Regions from separate parts of the Homo sapiens genome. Here region 2 is linked to region 1. The links are contacts of gene promoters, found by promoter capture Hi-C in human tissues and cell types (Jung and others, 2019). All regions are on one chromosome and are shown on one strand. The core of a region is centred on a gene start or on the middle of the fragment in contact, and the rest is flanking DNA. Distances in the headings are between cores, read along the strand shown.

Region 1 (7,189 bases), core at 1,880-4,379:
CCATGGTGGCAGGGATTTATGCTATGCATTGGCTCAAAAATAAGGATTTCCTCTCACTAAAGGATAATTGGCTGCTTCCATTGCTCAGCACTCAGCTTGCCACAGCAACTATGCAGGACCCTTACCCTGCCACACTGGAGGATGCCATGATTTGTCTTTAGTGGAAAAGTCAAATTGGCTTTGCTTTTTCTGCTCATCAGATTTCCCTCAACACGCTCGTCCATGAACTTATTGACTGGTCTATTCCTCAGTAGATTTTGCACATTATATTTTTTTCTAACTAGTTAAATCACTTTCTAGCAAAAGAAGTAAAGCCTTTGGGCAATGCCCATGGGGTAACTTGTCTCATCACAAAACCCATTACTAGAAACAGCAGACTTCATAGATGGTGGAATTGAATATTAAAGATCCAGTTATGGTCTGAAGAGATCCCATCTGGAAAGTATAAGGGAGAGAAAGCTTTTTGACAAGATGTATATTCATGAAACCATAAATTAATGTATGATATTATTTCTCTTAAACAGGACAGGAGTGGGTAGGGCTGCTCTTAATATTATACTTGCACTCCAAGTTTTGGACTATGCTGGTTTAAAGGCTTTAGTACCCAAGTAAGAATTCTTCCATTAAAAAACCTAGTGATAGGCTGGGCACGGTGGCTTAAGCCTGTAATCCCAGCACTTTGGGAGGCCGAGGCGGGTGGATCATGCAGTCAAGAGATCGAGACCATTCTGGCCAACATGGTGAAACCCTGTCTCTACTAAAAATACAAAAAATTAGCTGGGCGTGGTGGCGCACGCCTGTAGTCCCACCTACTCAGGAGGCTGAGGCAGGAGAATCGCTTGAACCCGGGAGGCGGAGGTTGCAGTGAGCAGAGATCACGCCACTGCACTCTAGCCTCGGCGAGGGAGTGAGACTCTGTCTCAAAAACAAACAAACAAACAAACAAAAAAACCCAGTGATAGTCCCACTTAATAGGAAGCTGAGACTACAGGAGGAATAGACATACTGCTTTGGAGTTGTACTAATAATGAGTAGGTTTGGGATTATCTCCCTTTGAGGGGCTGTGAACTGCATGCTCAGGTGCTCAAAGCATGGAGGTAGGGGGAGTATGTGAAGAAAGGTAATATTAATTGGACAGCCAAAGGGGCAAATTATAGTCACGTTTTCCCTACTCTTCTTCCTCATCCTACCCCTCTTCCTATTTTTCTTGTTTTTGGTTGACAAGCATCAATATGGCCTTTCTATGTTTAGAAAATTCTCTGCCTTAGGAATTTCCATGAAACTTGGCCAGATTGGCCAAGCACACATACTCTCCAGGGTTTTAATACTAGAAAAATCAACACAGAGAAACAGGGTGATGGAGACATTTTTGTGGCAGTAATAGCAGGGAAGTTCTCAGAGGTAGCTGTGGTACTGCTGCCAGGGAAAGCAACTGGAGTCCAGTAACATCAGTGTTAATGACAATATTGACACTGGTGAAGATGGTGTGGCAACCAGTATCAGGCAATGGTAGCAGCAATGTCTGTACCACTGGTTCTGTGGCCTTGCTTTTGGCTATAATCCAAGCTGTGCAGCCTTGCTTTATTCTGCCCATTTTCTGAGCCCATTCTCTATGGTTTCTAGCAATTCTGTGAGTTACAGCATTATTAAGAATTTCCTGGTTCAGATTGCAATTAGAAAACCTTGAATCTTCCTTACTAGTCAGAATAAGCTTATCAAGGAAAAAATAAAGTCTTTTAATAACTTATATTATTTACAGAAATTAGCAGAGAGCATTTTGAGAGTACATCTGATACTGTGGTTAATACATATCAGGATCCTCAACCTGAAAATGTTATCATTTACTAAGGAATGGAAAACTTGTACATGAAACAAATACAATCTGCAAGATGGAATAAAATTAAATGCTAAATTGAGAACAGACTGTCATTTAGAAAGTCTTTCTGAAAGAGATGGGACTATATTTAATTTCTGAAGGATGGGCAGGAGATGGCATTTAAAGTACAGAAATCATCAAGCACAGAAACAAATGTGGATACTCATGGGGCAGTGACCAACCTGACTGAAGGGTGGGTGCACGTCTGAAATCAATGGGAATACATTTGAATGATTAGGAGATAATATATTATTAAGGCCTTGCCTCTAATCAGAAATAAAGATATTCTCTATTTCCCCAAATAAGGAATTCTTACATAGAGCTTAATGTATTTAAAAATTTTTAAATGGGCCTACAGAAAAGAGGTGGGGCTGACGGAAGTAAATAAAACCTGAAGATAAATTAAAGAATATATCAACGTGGGCAAAATTTTCCATTAGTTTTGGAACTTAGTTTTGTTTTTGAATAATAAGCAGTTAAATAATTAAAGCTTTGCCTTGGCAATGCAAGGACTGAAGATTATTTCTCGGTGGCAATTTTCCAGACTTGCTAGTTGTCCTTGGGTCTTGGTAACATTCTGCTCATTAACTTCAGGAAGACGTCCAGGAGTAAAGATGCATTTGAAAGTGGCTGAAAATAGTTTGTAAAGCTCAGCTTTCCTGGCTCGACAGTGAAATGACCGCACAGGCCAGTCACTGGGTCAAAAATCAATTAACAAAACGGGAAGTTTTCATGTCTTTATTTTTACATTAGCTCGAAAATCACAACCAAGAAGAAAGGCAACCACTGAATACAGGAAATACAGTATTGTTATTGCTGTTTTTTTTTTTTCTCTTGGCAAGGCTGGGTCGGGTGCCTTCCAGCCTCGCTGTGGATCCCGCGAAGTGGACGGTTCGCTTCGTGGCTTCTTCCCAGACCCCGCCACTGCGGAAACCGTCACTCGGTGGCCCCCGACTGGGTCAATGCGAGGACGCCCACCTCCTACCTTTGAGTCTCTCCTCTTCTCCAGGGTACAGCCAACCCTTTCTCCAACGTAGCCGGAGTCCGAGAGTCCCAGTTCCGCCCCTCCAGCCCGCCCCAGGCCAGGTGGGGATGCGCCCGGCCCGGGCCAGCGCTGGTCCCGGCAGTTCCGCGTCTGCGCAGCGGGCGAGGGGCTGGAGCGGGGCCGGCCGGGGAGGTGCAGGAGACGTGGGAGCCAATGGGCACGCTCGGGGGAGCCGGGCTGGCGGCGGCGGTGGCGGCCGGCTGGGCGCGCACTCTCGGGATGGAGGGCGAGCGCCGGGCATCGCAGGCGCCCTCCTCGGGCCTCCCGGCCGGGGGCGCCAACGGGGAGAGCCCGGGGGGCGGCGCCCCCTTTCCGGGCAGCAGTGGCTCTTCCGCCCTGCTGCAGGCGGAGGTGCTGGATCTGGACGAGGACGAGGACGACCTGGAGGTGTTCAGCAAGGTGAGGGCGGCGGCGGCGAGTCCCGGGAAACTTCCAAGGCAACTCCGGGCGTTGCCAGCATTGCGCCGACGGCTGCCTCTGGCGCGCTTGCCCTCCCGGGGCGGTGGCTCTGAGCTGGGGACGAGTGAGGTCCCCCGGGCTGCTGGACCCCGCCTGCCAGCTCTGGCCGCACCCGGGGCCGCGTCGCCTCGGGGCCTCAAACCGCAGCCGCTCCCTCCTCCGCACTTTGACCTTCCGTTCGGCGGGGCTGTGGCTTAGTGGAGTCTGCAAAGTTGTGATTTGTTTTCCCTTTCTGCTTCTCTGACACAGACATCTTCCTCGCGGCAGCTCCCGAACCTGGGAGGCTGGTGGCTCAAAACCGCTCCCGCCAGCTGCTTTTCGGGCGAGGCCAGCCCTGAACTCTGGGAGAGCAGCCAAGTTTAGAGAAATTATTCTTAATTTAGTGTTGTTGCTTGTGGATTTGAGACTTGGGTGAGTCTCGGGTCTTGTGGGAATAGGTTCTAGGAAATCTCCCTGAACAGGAGAAAACGGTTGTTTCTAACAGGAAGCTCCTCCGCTGAGGAGCTAAGGATTTTTCAGATGGTCAGCTACTGCCACCCAACCCACAGCCAGTGCTTTCGTTTTTCCTTGCCCCCGGGAAATTTAGGACCAAAGGCTCTTATTTGCTTATTTTACTGTTGGAGGGAAATTGACTTGTGGGGGCTAGTGGTAGACTTTTGGTACGTGTAGACTGGTGTTTGTAATTTCTTAAAGGGTTTTAGAAAAGAAAAATACCTTTCTTGCAGGGAGGTTGAATGTCACTCCAGTTTCTCAAGTTGCTGCTGAGAGAAGACCTGAGTTCAGATCACAACGCTGTATTCATTACTAAGAAGCCTGTTCATTTTAACGTTACCTGGAGATATTAGGTAAAGCAAACGACCTACTTAACCACCGCATTTACTCTGGGAGAGCAAACCAAAGTTAGGAAGTGACCATGCATACTCTGACTCCAAAGAGGAGTATATAAAACTTATTTCTACTTCGGTTTAAATGGAATGATAGGCCCAGGTTTGTATTCCGAATATTTAAACAGACTATCACAGTTTTGTGCTCTTGACTTTTCTGTTAAGTAGTAAAACAATGGAATTATTTTATGTTTAGTTGTAAACTCTGCCTTTTTATATTCCACACATACTTCATGTTCAGATCAACGACAGTTGGCCAGTTGGTTATTTACTTTCTTTCCTTCTTTACATTGCTGTTTGGATAAGGAATATTAGTCTATGGTTATGCATTGTGAAACTTTGGGATGGGATGTTGGAAATAGCAATGGTGTATCAGAATCATCAGGGTTTCTTTCTGGTTTTTTTTTTTTTTTTTTTTTTTTTTTTTTTTTTTTTTTGTCGGGGCTGGACCCATCTGGCCTCAAGGGATTCTACCACCTCCAGCACCCAAAGGGTTTGGGATTACAGGCTTGAGCCACAGTGACTCGGATTGTTTTAAACTTGTCAAGTGGTTTCTCTTTCCCCAGATTCTAGGTGTTCTAGCTGACTCTTAAGAATCAATGTTTAAATGAGGTCCTCTTGTCAGAGGCAGATCCAAGGTGAAGCTAATGAAATTGAAGCTTCAGCGCTATTCGTTTGCTTAGACCTCTGGGCGTGTTGGGGGTTGCTGGAGTCGCAGATGTTCTAGGTGGGAAGGAAATGACAGGTCCCGACCAGAAGCATTTCTAAATAAGCATTTCTGGTGAATTGCCTAAAGCTCTCTCAGACTAAGGAATCTAGATCTCCATGGCTCCAATCATTTATTGAGATTTCTTTTCTCATTCTGAATAATGTGTTTTTCCACCTAATTTTGTATTCTTTTAAAAGGGGACCTTCCAAACTCTAAAAGCCCGTACACCTGGGTCCACCCTGCTTGTTAGTGTTAACTGCGCGTGTTGGATGCTTAGAAAAAGTTAAGAACAACTTCTGTAGAAACTGCCCACATAGATTAAGGCAAAGATATAATATTAGTGAAAATCCAACAAGAGTAGTTGGAAAAGTTTAAAATTAGCCACTTTCATCCATTTCAGTAAGTTGAATTTCTCAACCGTTATCTGTAGTTAAGCAAATTTAAGAAAGCCTGCTCCACGTGGCCTTCCCTTTCCACTACCTTCCTTGCCTGCTCCTCTATAAAACAAACACCACTGCTGTTCAGCCTATCCTAGGATGGAATCTCACAATTACTTATGAAGCAAACTGTCCTTCCCTTTTAGTAATTTGAGATTGGCAAACTACATATTTAATTTACATTCACCTTTATAGTCCCCTTATTCTCTTAGATTATTTGTGAATATGTGTCTGGTATACTCTTCCAGAAGCTTTTTAAAGAGTATGAATTTCCCCAGCACTTTGGGAGGCTGAGGCTAGCGGATCACTTGAAGTCAGGAGTTCACAACCAGCCTGGCCAACATAGTGAAACCCCATCTTTACTAAAAATATAAAAATTAGCCGGGTGTGGTGGTGGGAGCCTTTAATCCTAGCTAACCGGGAAGCTGAGGCAGGAGAATCTCTTGAACCCGGGATGCAGAGGTTGCAGTGGGCTGAGAGATCACGCCACTGCATTCCCACCTGAGTGACGGAGTGAGACTCTGTCTCAAAAGAAAAACAAAACAACTTCTTATTATTTTTTTTCCACAACGTATTACAAGTACATGGCAAATATACATTTTGTGTTAAGTATGCTTTAAAAAAAAGAAATACAAGATTTAGTTCTTGCTATCACAATCTTATACTCCAGGTGGGAAGATGTGACAAACTCTAAATGGCAATATAAATCAAGAGGGATGGAAAGTAAAACAAAGTTGTTCTGAATTTTCTTATAATCCAGTGAGAAGAAAATGATGCCAGACCTCAAGAGAATGCAGAGGACATTGATTTAAAAGAACGGGGATAGATGTTAGAAGGAAGAGAACAGAACCAATCATACAAAAACAGTAAAAATAAAAAAATAAAAAAGATACACAAATGGTAACAAGAGCCTAAGAATTATTTTAGAACTAGGTCACAATGAGATGAGGCTTCCAAAAAATTTAACTGGAGAAAAAGGGCCAGTTTCTTCACGTTTAAAGGAAAAAATCCTCCTCTTTGGGGAAAAACAATAAATTAAAATAAATTGCCTTTATTTTTATTGAATACTGTATAAAAGAAACAGCTGTGGATACAGTGTATGTGATTAGGCCACAATGAAGCACTGAGATGCTTATCTGGTACTCAGTAAATGATAGCTCTAATTGGCCTCTTTAAAGATATTCGGGATCATAAAAGTGAGATATATATCATCTAGGATAATCAGGGAACTTACAGGTGTAATCATCCTCATCACCACTAGTCATCTTTGAGAAATCATGAAATGCAATAATGGTTCCCTGAAACTAGAGATAGGTAAATATTGTTTTTAAAAATAATGGGCAAAATGGGAGTTCTGGAAGGTAGCGAACAGTAGGTTTCATTTCAATCTCCAAAAAAGCCATGAAATGAATTATTTAGTATGTTGTTTATACACACTTTGAAAAAAACATGATCAATAGAAGCTACAAGTTTTATAAGAATAATGAAAGACTTAAGATTGTGTTTATGGTAAATCAGAGTTATAATGACATGATTGAGCAAGGCTTTTGAAAAAAATCACTCATTTCTTCAGAAAAGGTTATTTATTTATTTGTTTATTTTTTGAGATGGAGTTTTGCTCTTATTATCTAGGTTGGAGTGCAGTGGCACAATCTTGGCTCACTGCAACCTCTGCCTCCCGGGTTCAAGCAATTCTCCTGCCTCAGCCTCCTGAGTAGCTGGGATTACAGGCATGCGCCACCATGCCTGGCTAATTTTTTGTATTTTTAGTAGAGACAG
Region 2 (7,189 bases), core at 2,899-5,398, 600 kb before region 1:
ATGGAGCGTACTGTGTGGGTGTAGGGGGATTTGGGGAGAGGGTGTCGTGGGCAGTAAGTTTAAACAAATTCAAGGCCATTACTACCACTGCAGACCAAAATAACTTAGGTCTGAGAGACCCCCTTAGAAAGATACAATGCCTTCCTCATCTAAAGGGAGCTAATACCAGAGTGATCTCGGCGCTCGCGCAGTTTTGAGAGAGGGTCCCGAAAACCGCCGGAGGCCAGGTGTCGCGGACGGGCCCCGGGCTAAACTCTCGTCTGGCGAAGTGAAGAGCGCAAAGTCTCCAGGCCCAGCGCGCCTTCGCGGGGCAGGCCGGACACCCTAGCCCCGGGCCGGGCTCGCTCTTCTCTGAAGCCCTGGAGCGGGCAAGGGGCACCATTCTGGCCACAGGAACTCTAGTTTCAGCAGCCGCAGCCCGCCAGCGCTGGCTCGGACCGGGGCCTCCTCTGGGAGAGTAGGAGAGCGAAAAAATCAACCACCACCTTGGATTTCAGATCGAGGAAAGGAAGCCAAAGCAAAGGTGTGGTTACACAGGACATCCATAGACAAATCGTTGCCTCTCTAAGTGGGCCTGAGCTTTGCGGCTCCAGAAGCGCGAGGCGCGGTTGGTGCGGACGCGGGGGCGTGGGAGTCATCGCTCTCCCCGCAGCCCTGGCCGAGCTCTCTGCTGTCCTCCCGAGTTTGGGCCAGAGACCACGGCTCACTCCCTAACGCCCTCGCAAGGACGGCTGCCCGTCGGGCCAAGGGCGCCCCGGGCTGGAGGCCGGAGCAAGACGGCCCCGCGGGACTCGGGAGCCTTGGTAAGGCGGAGGCTCAGACCCCGTTCACGAAAACGCCTGGCTCCTCCAGGATTTGTCAGGTCTTAAGCAGCTCCGAGAAGGCTCCGCTGGCTCTTGGGGAACCCCGCTGTGCGGCTCACCCCCGTTTGTCTCTCTCAAGCTCTCGCCCTCCTCCCCTGGTCCTCCCTTCTCCAGATCCCCTGCCCTGCCCGAGGTCCGGGCCGCGCGGGCTGAGCCCAATACGCCCGGAGAAGAGCGCCGGAGCCCCCTGCTGGCCGGACGCGGCAGGCGCGGCGGCCCGCTCGGTCCCCTCCGCCCCGCGGGCTCTGCCCAGCCCGGACCCGCCTCCACCCTCCAGTGCCCTGGCGCTGGGGGCGTGCTAAAAGCAACAGAAAACAAAACAAAAACAAACAAAGCGCCAAACCCCACTCTCACCTCTTCTACTGGTCAAAGGTAAGTGTGAGTTCAGCCTCTCCCTCGTGCGTCTCTGACCCTTCTCTGGTTCTCTGGGCTGAGGTCTGAAGGAGCCAAAAGGGGCCCCCCTGAAAAAGAAATTATGGCCGCTTTTTAGAATATGTTTTCCAAGCATCAAAATCTCTCTCTCTCTCTCTCTCACACACACACATATATATACACACACACACGCACACACTTCAAACCCACACTTGCCAGTCTGGAAGAGCACTACCGATGTGCATGTTTCTGGAAGCATTTCCTTAGCTATTGGAGGAAATGTTTACTAATATTTCAGGTTGTAGACACCAATAATTATTCTGTGAATTGGGGAGAGGGAGGGTAAAGGAAGACAGATTCCTCTTAATTTAACCCTTCCTCCCGTATCTGAGTGTGAATCCTACTTTCAGTCCCAAGTCCTAGCATGGGCCGAAAAGTTTTCATTCTTATACTGAGGAGGAGAGAGAGAGAGTTATCCATTTCTGCGAGGTTTCCTGTGTTCCCACCCCTCACTATGGAACTGGGGAAGTGATTGTTTTGTTTATCTAGACAATTCATGACTTAGTTTTGTATGGCGTTTTGAAACTAGTTTAACCTTGAAATAGGCTATATGCTTTGAGTGGTACAGTGAAATAGGCTGTGTGCTTCTCTGTTCTCAGGAAAAGGTTGTTAGAAATCACAATGTTTCTTTCTATTCAGGCAGCCTTGAGTTAGAGATGGGCATAGTATGCTATGATTATTGTGACTTTTAGTAAAGTCTGTTGCCTCTGGATGTTTACTGTCTTTGGAGAATGATAGTTTTTTAAGAAAAAAATTCAAAAGCTTAGGCAAAAAATAAGTATAGATAGGTCTAGTAAGTGATCAGTACTATTAATATTTGCTTCTACTTTCTTCACACACTCTTCTGGGGAAAGAAGCCAAAGGACTTTTTTTTTACTGTCCCCGGAATTAGTTTGTTCTATCTAGGCAGGATCCACGAGACAATCTTTTAAAATGGCGTCTGTTTTCTTATTTGGTATTTTCAGGTGGATGGCAGAATCTTTGAACTGCTAATAAGTAAGGGGATGGGGCTGAAATGAAGAGGGATCTGGTATCTTTCCTCTGTGTTCATCAATCCAGGAGATCTGAACAGGTCGTAAAGAGTTGCAGCTCCTCCTGAGGATAAAATCGCAATTATAACAATAAAAACTAACATGTGTTGAGTGCTTATTCGTTGCCAGGTGCTGTGTTGCAACCTTTATCGTCATTTTCTCATTTAATTTCCACTGCAATCCTGTGGATTAGGTACTACGATAGTTTCTCATTTTACAGAGAAGGAAAGTAAGGATTGGGAAGATTTATTTACTTGACCAAGGTTATAACAGTTGGTAAGCAGAAGAGCAAGGATCTGAAAGCAGGCAGTAAAAGAGATATCTTGAGAACTCAGGTTTATTGTATTGGATTCAGACTGGTAGTAACTAAGCTAATATTTCAGGTCTCAGTCTTGTTTTTCATAAAGAAAAGAAGAAAATATTTTCTTTTCCTGAAATGAAAGCATTTGATCAAAGGGAGATATTTGCTTTTTAAAATGTTTGTTATGAACTCCCTACCCCCATTTCGCAGATGAGAAAACTGAGAGAATGAATCCATTTAGCTACCATAGCAAAGTGCATAGCCAGGCCTTAAAACCAGAGTTGCAGATCCAGGTTCTATATCCATTCCAGTTAACCATACTGCTGAAACACAAAAAGATCCTTGGTTTTTCTGAAAATGCTAAGCAGTAGATCATTAACAGCCCGAATCCCATATTTCTCAGTGAGGAAGCTTTCTTTCACCTTAATTGTGAATACCTTTTTATACTGAAAGGATGCAAATGTGGAAATAGGGCTATTCTCAGTGGTGAATTAAATGACAAAAATGGCAAAAGACTAAAATAACTACATCAGCTTTGCTTGAAAAGCAGTTAAAGCAGTTAAAAAGATATCTGAAAGGCTCGTCTCAGTACCAATTTAGTCTTCTCCACCCCCCAAGACCCATCCTACCCTACTCCAGGAAAGCCATTCCACATTACATTTATTTCTGCTAGCTTTTGTTCACAAAGGAGTTTAACACTAACAAGATTTTGGTGCTTTTCATCTCCATTCATATATTTCTTCTTTGCAACGGTGAATGGTTACAGTAAAAATGTCAAAACAAACCTCTGGAATGAACACTTTAACAGAAAAAAATATATACAATATTAATTGACCAAAGATTTTTGACTGGCATTCACATTTTAAGACACACTTATGATGTACTGAAGTAAATTGTGGAAATTGATTTACCCTTTATGTTAAAGGTAGTTCAGGTCCAGAATATGTTTCAAAAAACGATTTTAGGGTTCCTCCATTTTCAGTAAGGCTCAAAGTATCAGAGAAAACCAGATGAACTGCCTTAAGTCACTGATTGGGCTGCAGCCCATGTCTTAGCTTTCTGGGTCATTTGTGTGCAAATTATTTGGCCACATGGCCTCCTGTCATGCTGGGGATCTGCGATTTTTCCAAAGGTTTAATTTACTTAAATATGATTGTTATTGTCAAGTTGGGATTTTTTTTTCTTCTCACCTCTCATTAAAACCCTTAGTATCAATATCAGTTTTGAACTATTATGTTATATAATGAAGCTTGCTTGTCTGTGTGAATTTATACCATAAATGCGTTCACAGATTTTTAGACCCGAAGAAGGGCTTTTTGAAATGATCTAGTCTAACCCTGTTATTTTACTGATGAATAAGTTGATGTCCTGAGAGGTAATACAGAATTCTCAAGGTCACCCATCTAGTAAGAGGAAGAATGGGAACTGGAACCCAGATTTTCTGTATTCAAGCTCTAAGACCCATGCATTCTCACAGCATCACGTCCCTACTTCTTTCATTGTGAGAGATTCAGTCACTCATTCAACAACTAGTTATTGTCATGAACTTGGCAACTGTTCTAGGCATTAGGAATTCAACAGAGGGAAAAATAAAACAATCCTGAAAAAAGGCCTTCATTTGTTGAAACATATTCTGGTGGTGGAGTGGGACAGAATCAAATGGCAGTCTTAACAGTGGCTATAAAGACATTTTATAAAGACATTTTTCTTAAAAATTACCTTTAATAGGTTATAAAATTCAAAGCAGACAAAAATATGCTGATATTCTTCTGCTTTTTCTGTTAAAGAAATTTGAGGAACTTATAATGAAACCAAGTAATGAATCACTAAATAATGAAATCGCCAAATAATGAAATCACCAACTGGAAATTAGAAGTAAATGGTCATAGCAAACCCTAACCAGGTAAGTAGAGCCCTCTCAGATGATCCATCCATGGACCAAGGAAGACTGTTTCCCAGAGTCTTCACAGGGTCTTTCTGTGAATTGGGGATTAAATGCCTTTGAGAAAACATAGACTTGTACAGGAGCTGGGATAAAGATATAAAAAAGAGATCGAAGAGGAAATTATTTAACAAGATGTTTGACATATTTTCAAATGTATATTAGACTGTCCTAGCAGATGAACCAAAGAGCAAGAGAGCACTATCTTGAGTTTAAGGCAGAAGCTTCAAGGCTTACTATAATTGGTTTTTGTGATTAACTCAACTTTTCCCTTTTAGAATATGATATACGGTAGTCTTCCCTCATCAATGGAATAATTGGTGAGGGAAAGGTATAAATAATTCAATTCTGTAAAATCTTGGGTTTTGTGATTGTGAGATGCATTAAAAACGGTGTTTTTTAAGAAAATAGAACTGGTTATTACAAAGAGAACATACACTGGGCATTGAAATGAAAAATTATCAAATGAATAGGATGTAGTAACTTCCTTAAAACTGCCACTTTCCTCACAAGAATTTTTGCCTATCAAGGTTTGGACCAATTGCCAATTGTCTTATATCCATATTTGCCACTTGAGAGGAGCACTTTTTTTTCCTAGTGTTTTACTGTATTTGACTTGGCAATGAAATGAAGCTCCCTCTCGGCAAATATACAGAATGAAACTTTTGTTAATTTGGGACAGGGGAGAGGAGGGTTTTGTCTGATATTACAAGGGGGAAAAGTGCATTTACTCCACTGAAGTTTCTTTTGTACTGTTTTCTGCCAGTTTAATTTTTATTTTCTTTGGAGTTCTGATGATATATTAATGTAACAGATATAGTTTATAATATAATGTGTTAATAGTATAATAGTTTGGCTATTTCATATTTTAGTATTTTACATGTTAGTCATGTAACACAAAACATGTAGGCAGGACTGGTTGAAAGAAACTATTAGATGATTACTACATAGCGAGGGCCACCCAAGTCCAATTCACTGCATGTGAACTGTTGAAGAAGTTTTGCAGAATTTCTCTTTCATGTTGTCAGATGTCATGTGGTGGTATCAACCAGGTAAATGATTAAGTTGGATTCTCTGGAGAGTCACTGGTATATTTCCTGCCTCCAAGCATATCTGAAACCAAGCTACAACTATAGGAAGTGTTGAATTGCAGAAATGTGGTCGAATTGTTATCTCTACTACCTGTATTATGGAGATTAGAAGTTGTAAGTAAAGAAGTCTGGGTCTTTTTCAACTTTTTTTTGCCCTGAGGCCGGCTGAAGAACTAATAGCATCCTCTCCCACCATGGTCACTGAAAAAAGTAGCAAATCTTAAATAAAGGAAAACATGAGATCTGAGATCTTTTCGATCTGCCTTAAGATTGGACAGAGTTTACGGAATAATTATGTTGAAGCTCCCAAATAATGTGAATGAGGTTATCTTTCTGAAGGGGTGAAAGGGTCTTTGTGACCCACATTCCTTTTGGAGCTAACCTGCTAAAAAAAGAAAAGCAGACAGACAGAAAGAGGAAAACAAATCCTATTTGAGATGGAGGTTGAGTGACAAGAGAAACTTTTAGCCTTCAGATATGTTTGCTCTGCACCAGGTACATAATAATATGGTTTTTGGATCTTTGAATCCATACTTAGCTAGGCATTAAATTCTAGGAATAATCTGTTTATGGAAAATAAAGCCATTTCTATTTGAAAACAAATGGAACAAAATAATTATTTTTCCCCAAATGTGTACCCTTTTAATTGATCAAATGCATCCAGGAAATTCTGCTGGCAATTTGAACACTGTAGGTGTTGTTGCAGCTCTAAATTTGTCTGCAAGAGGAATTGTAAATGGTATTTACCTTTTAATTAAACAAAGCATCTTGCAAATTAAACACATGTTCTTGCACATCAAAATTTAGTTAACATCCTTTTCATTGTTCATCCTGCTGACACTCTGACAGCATCGTGAGTCCACACACAATATAGAGTCATGCTGCTCCCCCCTTCCCTGCACTTTGCATTCCTCAGAGTAGATGATATCACATGCTAGAGTACCCTCTGTAACTGACTTCTAATAACTGAGCAGCTTTTCCCATTTAATATACTTAATATTGTGTAAAATATGGGACTGCATTGGTGTGTCCAGAACCTGGAAAGCTTTGGACACTGATCTGACATATGTCTTATAATCTTACACTGAAAATTTGACAGTGAATGACAGAACACCTTAGAGGAATATAAGAAACTGATAAAGGCAGAAGCACTGCACGTGAATGCAGAGTATGGTTTCTAATAGCTACATACTTTTTTACATGCATACCAGTAATTTGACATTTATAATTCACGGTGGAGCTGAATTTCTGTCATTTTCTTACTGTCAAGTCCTCCACATTTTGAAATAAATGTCCCTTCTAATTATTATACGAATTTGAACTCCAACATTCAATTTTTTCCCCTGTCCCTTATAATGGAGTACTACATTTAGCTGAAGTCTGATTTGCAAGACCAGTTAGGAAGTGTGATCATTTCAAACGTATTCCCACAAACTATACATGGGAACCCCTTTCTTGATTGTAGTCTGTCTTACTTATAAAAGTACAGTTTAAAACCCATCTATCAGTACTATTTCTAAGAAAATAAG

Evidence for each region. Contacts are between HindIII fragments. The study calls those that stand out against the background at their distance.
Region 2: a contact is called between a fragment that was not itself captured here and the fragment with the promoter of SNX7 in region 1, in 1 of the 25 tissues and cell types used here (dorsolateral prefrontal cortex).

Annotation. Positions count from the first base shown.
Region 1 is chr1:98,658,592-98,665,780 of GRCh38, forward strand. It overlaps SNX7 (sorting nexin 7), which reads left to right and starts at 3,130. Exons shown (of 9, transcript NM_015976.5): 1 at 3,130-3,320. The coding sequence starts at 3,141. SNX7-DT (SNX7 divergent transcript) reads right to left here and starts at 2,181. Exons shown (of 1, transcript NR_189290.1): 1 at 1,716-2,181. RefSeq lists silencers at 2,932-3,071, 3,092-3,211, 3,442-3,511. The HindIII fragment of the contact is 3,254 bases long and covers 2,039-5,292 here.
Region 2 is chr1:98,053,269-98,060,457 of GRCh38, forward strand. It overlaps LOC124900404 (a long non-coding RNA gene), which reads left to right and starts at 1,111. Exons shown (of 2, transcript XR_007066241.1): 1 at 1,111-1,235. RefSeq lists a silencer at 953-1,212. The HindIII fragment of the contact is 3,202 bases long and covers 2,548-5,749 here.